Linked DNA regions of Homo sapiens: all the other regions are linked to region 1. Evidence: promoter capture Hi-C in 16 types of primary human blood cells and fetal thymus (Javierre and others, 2016). All regions are on one chromosome and are shown on one strand. Each heading gives the region's core, a stretch centred on a gene start or on the middle of the fragment in contact. The rest is flanking DNA. Distances are from core to core; before and after follow the strand shown. Region 1 holds the start of PLCD4 (phospholipase C delta 4). Region 2 overlaps VIL1 (villin 1). Region 3 overlaps VIL1 (villin 1).

Evidence for each region. Contacts are between HindIII fragments. The CHiCAGO score rates a contact against its expected background, and 5 or more counts as called.
Region 2: a contact is called between a fragment that was not itself captured here and the fragment with the promoter of PLCD4 in region 1, in 1 of 17 cell types (fetal thymus). The highest score is 5.2, in fetal thymus.
Region 3: a contact is called between a fragment that was not itself captured here and the fragment with the promoter of PLCD4 in region 1, in 2 of 17 cell types (M2 macrophages and M1 macrophages). The highest score is 5.5, in M2 macrophages.

The regions. Positions count from the first base shown.
Region 1 is chr2:218,605,342-218,609,994 of GRCh38, reverse strand. It overlaps PLCD4 (phospholipase C delta 4), which reads right to left and starts at 2,096. Exons shown (of 16, transcript NM_032726.4): 1 at 1,925-2,096. The HindIII fragment of the contact is 12,670 bases long and covers 1,606-4,653 here.
Region 2 is chr2:218,421,089-218,425,741 of GRCh38, reverse strand. It overlaps VIL1 (villin 1), which reads right to left. Exons shown (of 20, transcript NM_007127.3): 2 at 1,889-1,974; 3 at 1,391-1,465; 4 at 1-127. The coding sequence starts at 1,963. Among named protein-coding and RNA genes, the nearest start is that of VIL1, 4.3 kb to the right of the region's middle. RefSeq lists an enhancer at 836-1,336. The HindIII fragment of the contact is 867 bases long and covers 1,427-2,293 here.
Region 3 is chr2:218,438,098-218,442,750 of GRCh38, reverse strand. VIL1 (villin 1) reads right to left here. Exons shown (of 20, transcript NM_007127.3): 18 at 4,025-4,093; 19 at 1,889-2,029. Among named protein-coding and RNA genes, the nearest start is that of VIL1, 21 kb to the right of the region's middle. The HindIII fragment of the contact is 5,722 bases long and covers 1-4,653 here.

The sequences.
Region 1 (4,653 bases), core at 847-3,346:
CCCACCTCTCTCTCTCTCTTAATCCTCTGTCTTCCTGTTTGCTCACCTAGGTCAGTCTCTCCTCTTCTCTTCCTTCTCCTCATCCCTTCTCCCCATCACCTCTTCCAGTTGGTTCCCTCTTTTGACTCCACTAATTCGCAATGGCTCTGAGTCTCATCTCCTTTGAGAATTTTGAGACTGTGGTCCAGAAGGGAGGACACTTGGGTTCAGAACTCAGTAGCATGCGTGTCCCTCTGCTCAGCCTCACTTTTCTCTGTATCCTAGGAGATTGACCAAACAAACTGCCCAGACAATGTGAGTTAGAACCTAGGTATTCTAGGTCTTGCTGTTTCCTCTGGTGTCTAATGGTAGAATGGGAAGGATGCCCACAGCTGATGCAGGTGCAATGAGAAGAGAAGGAACAAAGGGTTTGGGAGTGAGGGCACTGGGAAAAACACAGAGGATGACATCTGATAATAAGAAAGGTTGGTCTTAAATATTAACTCATAGACACATATATGGAGATCTTCAATGATATGGTAATTACCTCTCTAATACAGATACGAAAATAGGGACACAAAATGAGATGGGAAGTAGCCCAGAGCTGCAGAGCGCAATTTGGTCCTCAATTTCTAAGAGACTTCATGTCACCTAGAGATGGACTTTGGCAGAGTTACCAATGGCACCAAGGAGATTACAGTGGGATTCAGGGTGTCTCAGGTCTCTCTGAGGGGCAAGAAAGAAGAGAATCATTTTGTCTACTCCCTTGCTTCTGAGAAGGATTATGCCTAACCTGGTTCATATAGAGGACAAATTGGCTCTGGTCACAGGTCACAGAATGTTGGAGCTTGAAGGTTCTTTTTTTTTTTTTTTTTGAGACAGAGTCTCGCTGTCGCCCAGGCTGGAGTGCAGTGGTGCGATCTTGGCTCACTGCAGGCTCCGCCCCCCGGGGTTCACGCTATTCTCCTGCCTCAGCCTCCCGAGTAGCTGGGACTACAGGCACCCGCCACCCACCTCGCCCGGCTAATTTTTTGTATTTTCAGTAGAGACGGGGTTTCACCATGTTAGCCAGGATGGTCTCAATCTCCTGACCTCGTGATCCACCCGCCTCGGCCTCCCAAAGTGCTGGGATTACAGGTGTGAGCCACCGCGCCCGGCCAGTTCTTTTATAACACATCTAATCCAGACATTCCCAGCTACATCAATAGCCTCTGGAATGTCTTGAAATTGAGATCCTTAGCCCTACCCAAAAATCTACCAGATCAGAGTTACCCAGGGTGGGGCTCAATAATATATTTATTTTTAACAAGTACACTTGGTACACAGGCAAGTCTGGGAAACCCTAAACTCTCTCGTATCACAGATCTGGAAGTTGTGGCTCCAGGTCCCGTAGCTAGTTAATGGCACAGGCAGAACTAGAAGTAGGTTTTCTTACCAACGTAGCACTCTGGTGCACTAAGAAACTGCTCTGGCCCATGGAATAGGCAAAGAACAAGTTCTTTAGAGAACTTTCTAAGGGACTTTCATAACTCTCTCTATTACCAGGGATCTCTGATTCCCCATGGTTCTTGGCCAACCCCTATTTTGCAACCCTCAACAAACTGTTAATGAATCTATGCTAAAGCTTAGCTACTCCAATTTTTTCTTCCCTTATTGGGGGTGGAGTTCACCTCAGGAGTGGCTAGGGTTGGCACTTCTGGCCCTGCATAAGCTAAGAGGTACCTCATATAAAGGGCGACTGACACAGCCAGGAGGAAAGCTGTAAGGATAAAGGAGGATAAGCTAGAGAGAACCAGGAGGTGGGAGCCCTGTAGAGCTGTTGGGATGAGGAAAGGAGTCTAGGGTACAATTTAATCAGGGTGGATAAGCATCTAGAGGGCAGAGGTAGGGACTCAGGGAAGACAGAGCTTAGAGCAGAGGGTAGTCAGAGCTTCCAGATCCTTACCGTGGGCAGGAGAGCAGAATAGCAGTCCTGTGTTTCCTGTGTCTGTGAGCTGTGCCTCCCGAGCTCTGCGATGCTGTGGGATCAGGAAGCCCAGCCTGGCTCCTTTTCTCTTTTGCTCCCCTTGCACTGGCTTGTTTCCTCCCCTCTTCTACAGCAGCTGGCTGCTGTGACTGGCAAGTTATAGCCGGAGGGAAGCAGTAAGAAGGGGAGAGGTGTGAGCTCTCTCCAGTCCAGCCCATCCAACTCTTAAAGGCCCAGGACACTGGTCAATGTGAGGGAGTAGTGGGGGTGGGGTGGGGAGAGAAGGATTAAGGGCAGCACATCTCCAGGGAGGAGCCTGGCTGCCCTTCATCTTGATGCCAGCCCTCATTGACCCCAATCCCGCAGTAGCTCTCAAAGTGAAGGGAGTGTCCTCAGTTGCAGTGCTCTGTGAATCACTGCTTTTCATTCTGGTTCCTGCATGTAATACGGCTGTTTTTGCCCTTATTTAATCTGGCTCCTTTCCATAGTGTCTGTTTCCACTGGCCTGCTCCTGTATCTCTGAATCCTGCCTGCAGGGCACTCACTGTAGCTCCGTCCCACAGGAAAAGAAAGAAATAAGATGGGAAAAGAGGAAGACGAGGAGAAGGGGAGGACAGGAATGATGATAGAATGTAGAGGGACAGATAGGTTAGAATCTATGTATATTTTAGGCACTCATTAAATATTGAAAGAATGCATAGATGAACGTGTGAAACAGCTCATTTTTTTTTAAACATCCATTCGTTCCTCCTACAAGCATCTGTTCAGCACCTCTGGGTTATAAGTCATAGCCCTCAGAATGGAGGTAGCACCTTCAGGACATACATGCATGTTTATAAAGATGTGTGCAGAGATGAAGCATAGGCTCAGAGGGGAACTGTGTGAAATGGTGTAATTTTAAGTGTGCTGACGTCTGGCTGCCTATCATGGTTTCCACAAGCATCCCTCAACTGCCTAATATTTTACCATTAGTGATTATAGCTACATTTTTTAGTCCCATTAAAATAAAATCCTCCTAAGTGATTACTATAAAAGTCAGGATAGTGGTTACTGTTGGGAGGGGGAGGAATTGTGGTGAGATGGGACACAGAGGGGGCTTCTGGCATAGCTAGCTAAACTCTATTTCTAGTTCTAAGTGCTAACAAGGGTCTTCACTTAATAATTTATTAAGCTATACATTCTCTTGATATATTTTCTATATGTGTTTTTAAATTTATTTTTTTAGGTCTCATTTAAAATATCATATATCTGTGTTAACTTTTGAAGGCTTAATGATTTTAAATATACATATATGTATATGTATATGTGTGTGTGTGTATATATATATATATATATATTTTTTTTTTTTTTTTTTTTTTTTTTTGAGATAAGAGTCTCGCTGTTGCCCAGGCTGGAGTGCAATGGCGTGATCTTGGCTTACTGCAACCTCTACCTCCCGGGTTCAAGCAATTCTCCTGTCTCAGCCTCCTGAGTAGCTGGGATTACAGGTGCATGCCACCACCCCCAGCTACTTTTTTTTGTATTTTAGTAGAGACGGGGTTTCACCGTGTTGCCCAGGCTGGTCTTGAGCTCCTGAGCTCAGGCAATCCACCTGCCTTGGCCTCCCAAAGTGCTAGGATTACAGGCGTAAGCCACTGCACCCAGCCGATTATAAATAATTTTTTAAAAATTCAATCCTAAGGTCAAAGTAGATTTTAAATAATTTATACCTAGGTTGGGTTGTCTATATTCTTTACTGAGAGCAGGTTTTGATAGAAGAGTAGTAGTATGAAGGAAGGGGACACATTAGGAGGGAGGCCATTCATGGGGAACAGGAAGATTGGGGGGCATCGTAGTTTAAACTGTGCTGATTTCAGATTTGACTTAATAGAGGCCCTGTTTTACATGCTTGTCTTGCTCTCCCATTTCTACTTCCCCAACATGGCCAGCTTATTTTTCCAAGCCTCACCTTCACAGTCCACACTCCTCTTCTATACCCCCAGATTATATACCATCTTTCTGAGTCACTATTTGCATCAATTTAATGCTGCCCAACCTCCTTCCCTCTTGGGTAATCTGTGAGGGGTGTTATCACTCATAGTGGATTTTCTGGGAGAGTCTAGATCTCAAATATTCTGTTTCAATGTTCCCATGAATACAACAGTATTCTTCAGCCCATATGTTCTGATTTTTGGGGCAGGGACTTGGAGACTTTCACAAGGTTAGTATGGTTCCAGAGTGCCAAGGCATGCCCACTGCAGGACTCTCATGAAACAGAGGGAGGGAGCAGACAGACAGGGCCCCCTGGGCACAGTAAATGTCCATCTGGTATGGTTATTCCTATTTCCACCATGATCCTGGCTGCCCCTTCCCCCACTGTTGTCTATTATTAACAGATCCAGAAACCTGATCAGGGCAGTAGCAGCAGAGGGACTTTCTGGGAACCATGCCCAGGAAAAGCCTAGAAGCCCTAAACTGAAATGAAGCAGCAGCTGGCAAAGAGGAAGACCTAAACATGGTACTCTCGCCCTGCCACCCAGGCCTGCCTAGACCTTCTTCCTGACATCCAGAGCAGATGCCACCCAATTAAATGTCTCCGCTTGTCAGGACACTCAGGCTGGAAAGTCTGAGATCAGTTCCCCAGACTATCGAACCAAACTACTCAAACTTCTGAAATAAAGCCCAACTCCTTCCTGATCAAAAATGCAACTCAAAACAGTAAATTCCAT
Region 2 (4,653 bases), core at 611-3,110, 180 kb after region 1:
CCCGGCCCTTCAGGAAGTCATCCATCTGTGTGGTGTAGATGGCAGCTGCCCCCTGCTCATCCAGGGATGAGTCCTGGCCAATCCAGTAGTGGATGTCATAGGACAGGCTGCTGGCTGTCTTGTGGATCTAGGGAAAAGGTGTCCAGTGTACCCGAGACCCTGGGCTCCCACAGCCCCTCCAGCTCTGTGTGACCTCCCACACACGTGCCGTCCAGGACTATGGGGGAGCGTGGCACAGGGCAAGTGCACTAGGCTGGCGGTTAGGAGCCCTGAGTCATGGCCCAGCTCTACCATTGACTCTCTGAGACATGGCTTCTCCTCTCTGGGCCTCCCTTGCCTCATCTCAGAAATAACTTGCTTGTGCCAGGCACAGTGGCTCACGCCTGTAATCCCAGCACTTTGGGAGGTCGAGGCAAGTGGATCACCTGAGGTCAGGAGTTGAAGACCAGCCTGGCCAACATGGCAAAACCCTGTCTTTACTAAAAATACAAAAATTAGCCAGGTGTGGGGGCAGATGCCTGTAATCCCAGCTACTCAGGAGGCTGAGCCACGAGAATCGCTTGAATCCAGGAGGCAGAGTTTGCAGTGAGCCAAGATTGTGCCATTGCACTCCAGCCTGGGCGACAGAGCGAGACTCTGTCTCAAAAAATAATAATAATAAATACATAAAATAAAATAAAAATTTAAAATGAGTCAATATAAAGAAAAAAATACAAATGTCTTAATAGTACAGGTGGTACCAGGGTATGGTGAAAATCAAGGTGATATGAAGATGACTGCCAGGCTGGGCATGGTGGCTCATGCCTGTAATCCCAGCATTTTGGGAGGCTGAGGCGAGTGGATCACCTGAGGTCAAGAGTTCGAAACCAGCCTGATCAACATGGTGAAACCCCGTTTCTACTAAAAAATACAAAAAAATTAGCTGACTGTGGTGGCACGTGCCTGTAGTCCAAGCTACTCAAGAGGCTGAGGCAGGAGAATCGCTTGAACCCGGGAAGTGGAGGTTGCAGTGAGCCGAGGTCGCTCCACTGCACTCCAGCCTGGGTGACAGAGTGAGACTCCATCCGGAAAAAAATTTTAAAAAAAGAAGATGACTATGGATTGTGGAAATGTGGACTCAAGTTAGGGTGATACGGCAACAACTCAGAAGTTTCCCCAAGACTGTGAATCCACAGAAGTTGACCTCAGCTGGGAGCTCAGTGGATCAAGGGCAGCAAGAGCCTCTGACCTCTGTGAAGCCCCCACAGGGTTGGGCACTTGGGCATACCCAGTAAATTGTGTCTTGGGGTGAAGCCAGGCCAACTCTCCCCACGGCCCCCAGCCTGTTTCCTCCCTGACACCACAGTGGGTTTTGCTCTCTGCTCAGCCCCCTCCCCTGCCCCTGACTCACAGCCAGGATGATGTAGCAGTCACCATCGAAGAAGCTTCCAAAGGTGCTGGAAGGAACAGGCACCATCTGCATGGCCTAAGGAGAGAAAGAGGGTCAGAGGGGCTGCCCTGGACCACCAGGACCCCTAGGCCTGGGAGGAGGGCCCAAGGGGAGGAGGCGTCGGAGACAAAGAGCCGGGCCCAGGAATGAAAGGAGAGAAAAGGAAGAGAGGAGAAGAAAACTGTGAGGGGCGGGAGAAGGAAAATCAATGGAGGGAAAGGAAGGGATGAGTGAGGAAGAGGAAGTGGAGAGGAAGGTTGAGAGACAGAGGGAGAAGAAATGGAGAAAGGGAAAGGGAGACCAGCCGGGGTGTGGATGATGCGGGAGGTGAGGGGCTGAGCTCTCAGGGGCTTCAGGGCAGGAGCAGAGGAAACGAAGAGAAATCCCAGGCCTCCCTCCTTGGCCTTGCCTCCCTCCACCCCAGGCCTGAGCAGCCCCCATGCCCAGACAGGGCCTCACCTCGATCCTCCATATCTGCAGCCCCGGGGTGGTGATGTTGAGAGAGCCTTTGACTTGGGCGCTCAGCTTGGTCATGGTGAGTGAGCCTGGGGGAGAAGGCGTTGGGAGCAGGGGCACCCTGAGTTCGGATGCTGCCCTTCCAGCCTGCCCCTAGAGAACTCCCAACAGTGCCAGGAGGTCGCAGGCTCAGGGGCTTGGGGGAGCACAGAGGGTTACTCCCCACTCAGGGACCATTTCCGCTTGTTTAGTACCAAATCCGCAGTGTCTAGCACAGTGACTTTGCTCAATAAGGAAGAGAGGGGGAGGGAAGGAGTGAGAGATGGATGAATGAATGAACAGAGTGAACCCTCCCACTGTGAACTACTCTCTGCCCGCTAAACTGGAAGGAACCCCCCTCCCCAAGCTTTTCTCCTCATGTCAGCCCTTTCTCCATATTATTTTTTTCTTCTTCTTCTTTTTGAGATGGAGTCCCGCTCTGTCGCACAGGCTGGAGTGCAGTGTCGTGATCTTGGCTCACTGCAACCTCTGCCTCCCAGGTTCAAGTGATTCTCCTACCTCAACCTCCCGCATAGCTGGGATTACAGGCGTGAGCCACCACGCCTGGCTAATTTTGTATTTTTAGTAGAGACAGGGTTTCCCCATGTGGGCCAGGCTGGTCTCAAACTCCTGACCTCAGGTGATCCACCTGTCACAGCCTCCCAAAGTGCTGGGATTACAGGCATGAGCCACTGTGCCTGGCCGGCCCTTTTTGCTTGGACCTGTAGCTGTATTCGCTCCTGCTGCTCATCAGCCTCAGCTGGGGAGCTTCGGAACGTGCTGATGCTCCAGGCTCTGGTGATTCTGATTTAATTAGGCCAGGGTGGGGCTTGGGCATGGGTGCTTTATTTTCTGCCTTTTGGGAGGTGAGGCATGGGTGCTTTTAAAACTCCCCAGTGATTCTGATATGAACTAGGGCAGACAGCCACTAGTGCCCAGTTATTCTCCTCCCTAGTTTTGAGGTTCCTCCTCATCAGGCCAGAGGCCACCCCGATCTCCATGGAGCCTATCACCCAGCCTGGCAGAGAGCTGCCCTCCATGAATGCTCCTTGAACTGATGAATAATGAATGAGAGGGCATGTGGCCGACAGGTCAGGCCTCCACTCGCTGACAGCCTGAAATCTCACTATCTAATCTCTCCTTGCACCTTGACTTTGAGTCACCTCTTAGTGACTTGGCCTTTTAGTACTTAGAAACTCCCTTTTCTGAGCCCTGAGGGGTGGCTGCTGCTTCCCTGGCGTTCTAGAGTTGGAGGTAAGGCCCTGCCCAGTCTCTGATCATTGCCTGCTCCGACTGATTAGCAGCAGCTTGCCGTGTAACTGTAGGAGCCCCTTGGGCTTGGGTCCTGTCTGATGGCCTGTTGGCTATGGCCTTCTCCATCAGGCAACCATGGTCTCCTCCATCAGGTATTTTTCAACCTACCAAGTCCCCAGGGCTCCCAGGATTCCTGGTCCAGCAGAACCAGGTTGGGTATAAAGGAGGAGACCGTTTTCTGTTTCATTTCTGTCATCACCTTTGTCTCTGTCCCCTTCTTTTATTTATTTATTTATTTATTTATTTTTGGGACAGAGTTTCACTCTTGTTGCCCAGGCTGAAGTACAATGGCACAATCTCGGCTTACTTCAACCTCCGCCTCCCGGGTTCAAGTGATTCTCCTGCCTCAGCCCCCCAAGTAGCTGGGATTACAGGCGCGAGCCACCAAGCCCAGCTAATTTTTGTATTTTTAATAGAGACGGGGGTTTCACCATGTTGGCCAGGCTGGTCTCGAACTCCTGACCTCAGGTGATCCACCCGCCTCAGCCTCCTAAATTGCTGGAATTACAGGCGTGAGCCACCGCGCCGGGCCCCGTCCCTCTTTTTCTTTGACACTCACTAGCTGTATGAACGTAGACTTCCCTTCTTCATCTATGAGCTGAGGGGGTCAACTTAGGGGGTTAACTAAATCGATGATCTCTAAAGCCTCACCCAGGGACATGCTGATTCCAGGGTTAACTGGCAGCAAGAGGAATAGAGGGTGGACATGAGCAGGCACTTCTTGCTTATCAGAGAGGGGATTCAGGGGAGCAGAGACTTGAAAAAGCCAGCGCTCCCCCTCCCCAGAGAGAAATCAGGATTGGGGCCAGCCCCCACAGGCCAAAGGTGGGCAAGGGGACTCAGGAGTGGAAGCTCTGAGATGTGGCCCCCCTACCTGGTGTATACCCTCCAGATGCTCCTGCCCTCTACCCATGTTGGTCAGAGCAGATGCCTCTCCTCCACCCCTTGGTAGGGCCTCCTCCTCACTTCTCCTGTCTTCCCTGAACTTCCAGGAAGACCAGGGCCCGTCACTTCCCCCAGCCCTGCCACCGTGGACTCTGGTTTGGATTTGAGTTGTCTCCTCCTTCAGTTTTAATTCACTGGCTTCCTCCACTCCTGGTACTTTCTCTTCTGTGTCCCCAGACCAGGGAAGGGCATGGTCACCCCAAGACCCCAAAGTCAGCCATCTGTGCAGCATCCTGGACTCTTTCTGCTCCTGCCCTTCCATCCACCTAAACTCCCTTGAGTCTCCCCACTACACACAGCCCCCTGGCCCCTCTCTGCTGGCACTCTGCCCTCTAGAAATGCCACACTGCTGGCGGCCCCACCCCCATGCTGCCTCTCACCCCACGCCTGCTTGCACTGCTCCAATATGGAAAGCTCTCCCCACCTTTCTGACACTAACATGCTCTTCTAGACTCAATTTAGATCTCATT
Region 3 (4,653 bases), core at 644-3,143, 170 kb after region 1:
AAGACTACTTTATGACTTATTATACAGAGTATATTATCTCTCCTCTCAATACCCCTAAGCTAGATTGGCAGCCTATTTTGGATCTTCATGAAGTGGGATTGAATATTAGAAATGTGTTCTTAGGCTGGGTGCAGTCGCTGTAATTCCAACACTTTGGGAGGCTGAGGTGGGAGGATCACTTGAGCCCAGAAAGTTGAGGCTGTAGTAAGCCATGATTGCAACAGCACTCCAGCCTGGGCAACAGAGTGAGATCTTATCTAAAATTTAAAAAAAAGTGTCCAGCCCCAAACTCCATTCCCCACACATACACAAAAAGTGTTTTGAACAAGCTCTTCTTGCTGTGCTAACCCCAGTTACCAGATGGACCATGTGCTGATGAGTCTTAAATTCATATCTCTGCCCTGGTGTTCCTCTGAATTGCTTGCCCACTGAACATGTATCTAAACCTCAAAGGACATAGCTACCACCAAACTCATGATTGTCTTCCCCTAAGCTCAGCCTGATCCAGTTTTCTATCTTGGAGAATGATGCTATTTTCTCTTCTCTCATACTCTTTATCCAGTAATTACCAAATATCATTGATTTTACCTCCTAAATGTTTCTCTCCACCTCCTCCACCATGACTTGTTCTAGGTTCCCACCTACCTGTCGGCCTGAGAGCAGCTGTGCTGTCTCTCCTAACTGGTGTTCCTATGGCTGCTCTTGCCACCTTCCAGGCTATTGTTCGATGAGAAGCTATAATTATTATTATTATTATCATTTTGAGATGGAGTTACACTCTTGTCGCCCAGGCTGGAGTGCAATGGTGAAATCTCGGCTCACTGCAACCTCCACCTCCTGGGTTCAAGTGATTCTCCTGCCTCAGCATCCCGAGTAGCTGGGATTATAGGCACAAGCCACCATGCCCGGCTATTTTTGTAATTTTAGTAGAGATGGGGTTTCACCATGTTGGCCAGGCTGGTCTCGAACACCTGACCTCAGGTGATCCGCATTCCTCGGCCTCTCAAAGTGCTGGGATTACAGGCATGAGCCACCGTGCCAGGCCAATGTAAGTCTGTCACTCTGCTACTTCAACCATAATGATACTCCCCTTCACCACCAGGATACATGATACGATCCTTAACTTGGGGTAGAAGGCACTGCCAGTTCAGCCCTGCCTCCCTCCCTGGCTCTGCACACCACCACAGCCACTCTGGCCCTCTTGCAGTTTTGCCCCCATTTTTATTCCTTGCCTTTGGGCTTCATGTTAGCTGTCCCTTCTCCAGAACTAACTTACTTTGCCTCAATAATTCCTATTTGTCTTTCAGAAAGAAATCTCTAAATCAGGCTCCTCTTTGTAATACCTTTTTTTTTTTTCTTTTTTTGAGACAGTCTCACTCTGTCACCCAGGGTGGAGTGCAGTGGCATGATCTTGACTCACTGCAACCTCCACCTCCCGGGTTCAAGCAATTCTCATGGCTCAGCCTCCCGAGTAGCTGGGATTACAGGCATACACCACCACACCTGGCTAATTTTTGTAGTTTTAGTAGAGATGGGGTTTCCCCATATTGGTCAGGCTGGTCTCAAACTCCTGACCTCAGGTGATCCACCCACCTCGGCCTCCCAAAGTGCTGGGATTACAGGCATGAGCCACTGCACCCGGCCCTGTTTGTAATACTCTTCACAGCTCCTGTACTTCACCTTTCTGGCACTTAACCCTGAAATTAAATAATAGTGTAACCAGGCTTCTCTGATCTCTCTCCTCCTGGGATATAAGGTGGCATGAAGGCAGGATCCCATCTGTCTTGTTCATCCCCAGCACCTAGTCACCTGCAGGGCCAAATCTGGGAGTCAACTATGGTGGTCCAACAAATGGACTTCTTTGTCTTCCTTTGAGAATCTGACCTACCTCCTTCCTGCTGGGGTCCACACCCTCGGGGAGCTCCTCTACAGGCTTGTTCACTAGCTGCTCCAGGGGGAAGATGGGCAGAGGCCCAGAACTGAGGTTGCTGTTAGCATTGAACACGTCCACTTTGGGGCTTGTGACCTCCTAGGAAAGAAAAGGAAACCACTGGTTACTTTAGCTGGTGCACAGCTACCTCCCAGGCTGCCTTTCTCTCTGAAGTCTCTAGGGCACCACCTTCAAGAAGCCTCCCATGTCCCACCCCACCCTGCCACACACACACTCATAAGAACAACATAGGCTGGGTGCAGTGGCTCACGCCTGTAATCCCAGCACTTTGGGAGGCTGAGGTGGGTGGATCACTTGAGGTCAGGAGTTCAAGACCAGCCTGTCTAACATGGTGAAACCGCATCTCTACTAAAAATACAAAACTTAGCCAGGTGTGGTGTCAGGCGCCTGTAATCCCATCTACTCAGGAGGCTGAGGTAGGAGAATCGTTTGAACCTGGGAGGTGGAGGTTGCAGTGAGCTGAGATTGCGCCACTGCACTTCAGCCTGGGCAACAGAGAGAGACTCCTCAAAACAACAACAACAACAACATAGAGCTTAGTGGTCTGTTCTGACCGAAGTCCATTGGTGGAAAATGACTCTTTTCTTTAACGATTCATTAACTTTCCCATGGCTTTCCCCAGAGTTGGAGATCTAGCCTGGATATTTATGACCCTGTCTCTCTTATCTGTTGTGAAATTGTCATCTATAAATTCACTTAACCTTGACCTATCTATACATGCCAGTCTGTACTGTCAGTCCACCAAGAAGGGTTTCATGAGTGCTGCAGGTTTTGACCATCTGTTGATTATACCCCAGTGTGCTTGTGAACTTGCTCTTGAATTCTGGACACATTCCTCAGAGTTAGCTCTGTCTTGTTCTCTCTATAAGCCTGTGAACTTCTCAAAGCAAAGGTTTTGATTTCATATTCCCGTGTCCCAGGCCTAAAGGCTAAATACATTTTTTTTCTTTTCTTTTTTCGGGTTTTTTTTTTTTTTTTTTTTTGAGACAGGGTCTGACTCTGTTGCCCAGGCTGGAGTGCAGTGGCACAATTTCAGCTAACTGCAACCTCTGCCTCCTGGGTTCAAACCAACCTCCCACCTCAGCCTCCTGAGTAGCTGGGACCACAAGCACGCACCACCACACCTGGCTGTTTTTTATTTTTTGTAAAGATGGGGTTTCCCCATGTTACGAAGACTAGTCTCAAACTCCTGGGCTCAAGCAATCCACCCACCTCGGCCTCCCAAAGTGCTGAGATTACAGGCGTGAGCCACTGTGCCCAGCCTAAATACACTTCTGTTAACTCACTGAAAGACCAAAGGAGTTGTAGTTATTCTACCTAGAGAAGGGATCCCAAAGGTGATGGAGTATAGAGACAGCATTATTTCTCAAAGTGTAGTCCATGGACTAACTACATGAAATTACCTTTTTAAAATAAGATTTAAAAGATGCAGATTCCTAGGTGCCAATTCTAAGTCTATAAACCAGAATATTTGGGAATGGGGCCTTGGAATCTGCATTTTAATATGCTTCCCCCTCACTCCCTGCCCCCATCTCCCCGACTTCTATGCATGATAAAATTTGAGAACCAGGCCAGGTGTGGTGGCTCATGCCTGCAATCCTAGCACTTTGGGAGGCCGAGGCTGGTGGATCACTTGAGGTCAGGAGTTTGAGACCAGACTGGCCAACATGGTGAAACCTCGTCTCTACTAAAAATACAAAAATTAGCCAGGCGTGGTGGCACACACCTGTAATCCCAGCTACTTGGGAGGTTGAGGCATGAGAATCACTTGAACCCAGGAGGTGGAGGTTGCAGTGAGCTGAGATCCTGCCACTGCACTCCAGCCTGGGAGGCAGAGTGAAACTGTGTCTCAAAAAAAAAAAAAAAAAAAAAATTGAGAACCATTTCACTAGGAAATTGAGGAAACAAAACCACTAGAGGCACTGAAGTAAAACAGCAAGAAGAATGAGAAGTGGGGGAGAAATAGGAGGGAAAGCACAGGACTCTGGTGTCTTCTCTGCAGCGTTCTTGGCTCCCACAGGTCTGACCACCAGCTGGCCACTGCAGGGCCCAGCCACCCCGCCCCGGACTCACAGCAGTGATCTGGCTCCAGTCCCTAGAGTTGCCAAGCTCCGCCTTCAGGTCCTCATAGGATTTGGTGTTCTGCACATAAAGTAAATAACAGATTAGACCTGGATCTCAGCAGAGGAGATGGATGAGAAGCCATTTTCCCTCAGGAATGAAAAGAAGGCTGGTCTGGGGCCTAGTGGTAAGAAAGGAAAGAGGATATGAAGGCTGAGGCTGGAGGAGGGTCCCTGAAAAAGGAGATTAGATGGTGAGATTGGGACCAGAGGGGCTGCCAGATCAGAAAAGTGGAGCGCAGGCTATATTTGTCCCAGCTCAGCCTGACATGGGGATGGGCAGGATCTTTTGCCACCTGCAGGGGCCAGGGCAAGAACCCACAGGCAGTATGGAGAACCCTGCCTAGGCTATGTAGGCTCTGGGAAATGCAGGGCTCCTGGGGATGGGTGGGGGTCCCCCCAGATAATAGAAGGGAGCCCTGCCACAGAGGAGTGAAGGGACCATGGCTCTGAGGAGTCCCATCTCCATATCCTAGAGCACACTTATGCTGAATGAATGAATGAATGAATGAGTGAATGAGGCTGAGAGAGAAGCCAGCACACACTTGAGGTGAGGGAAAGGTGATAACTAAAGTGGATTGA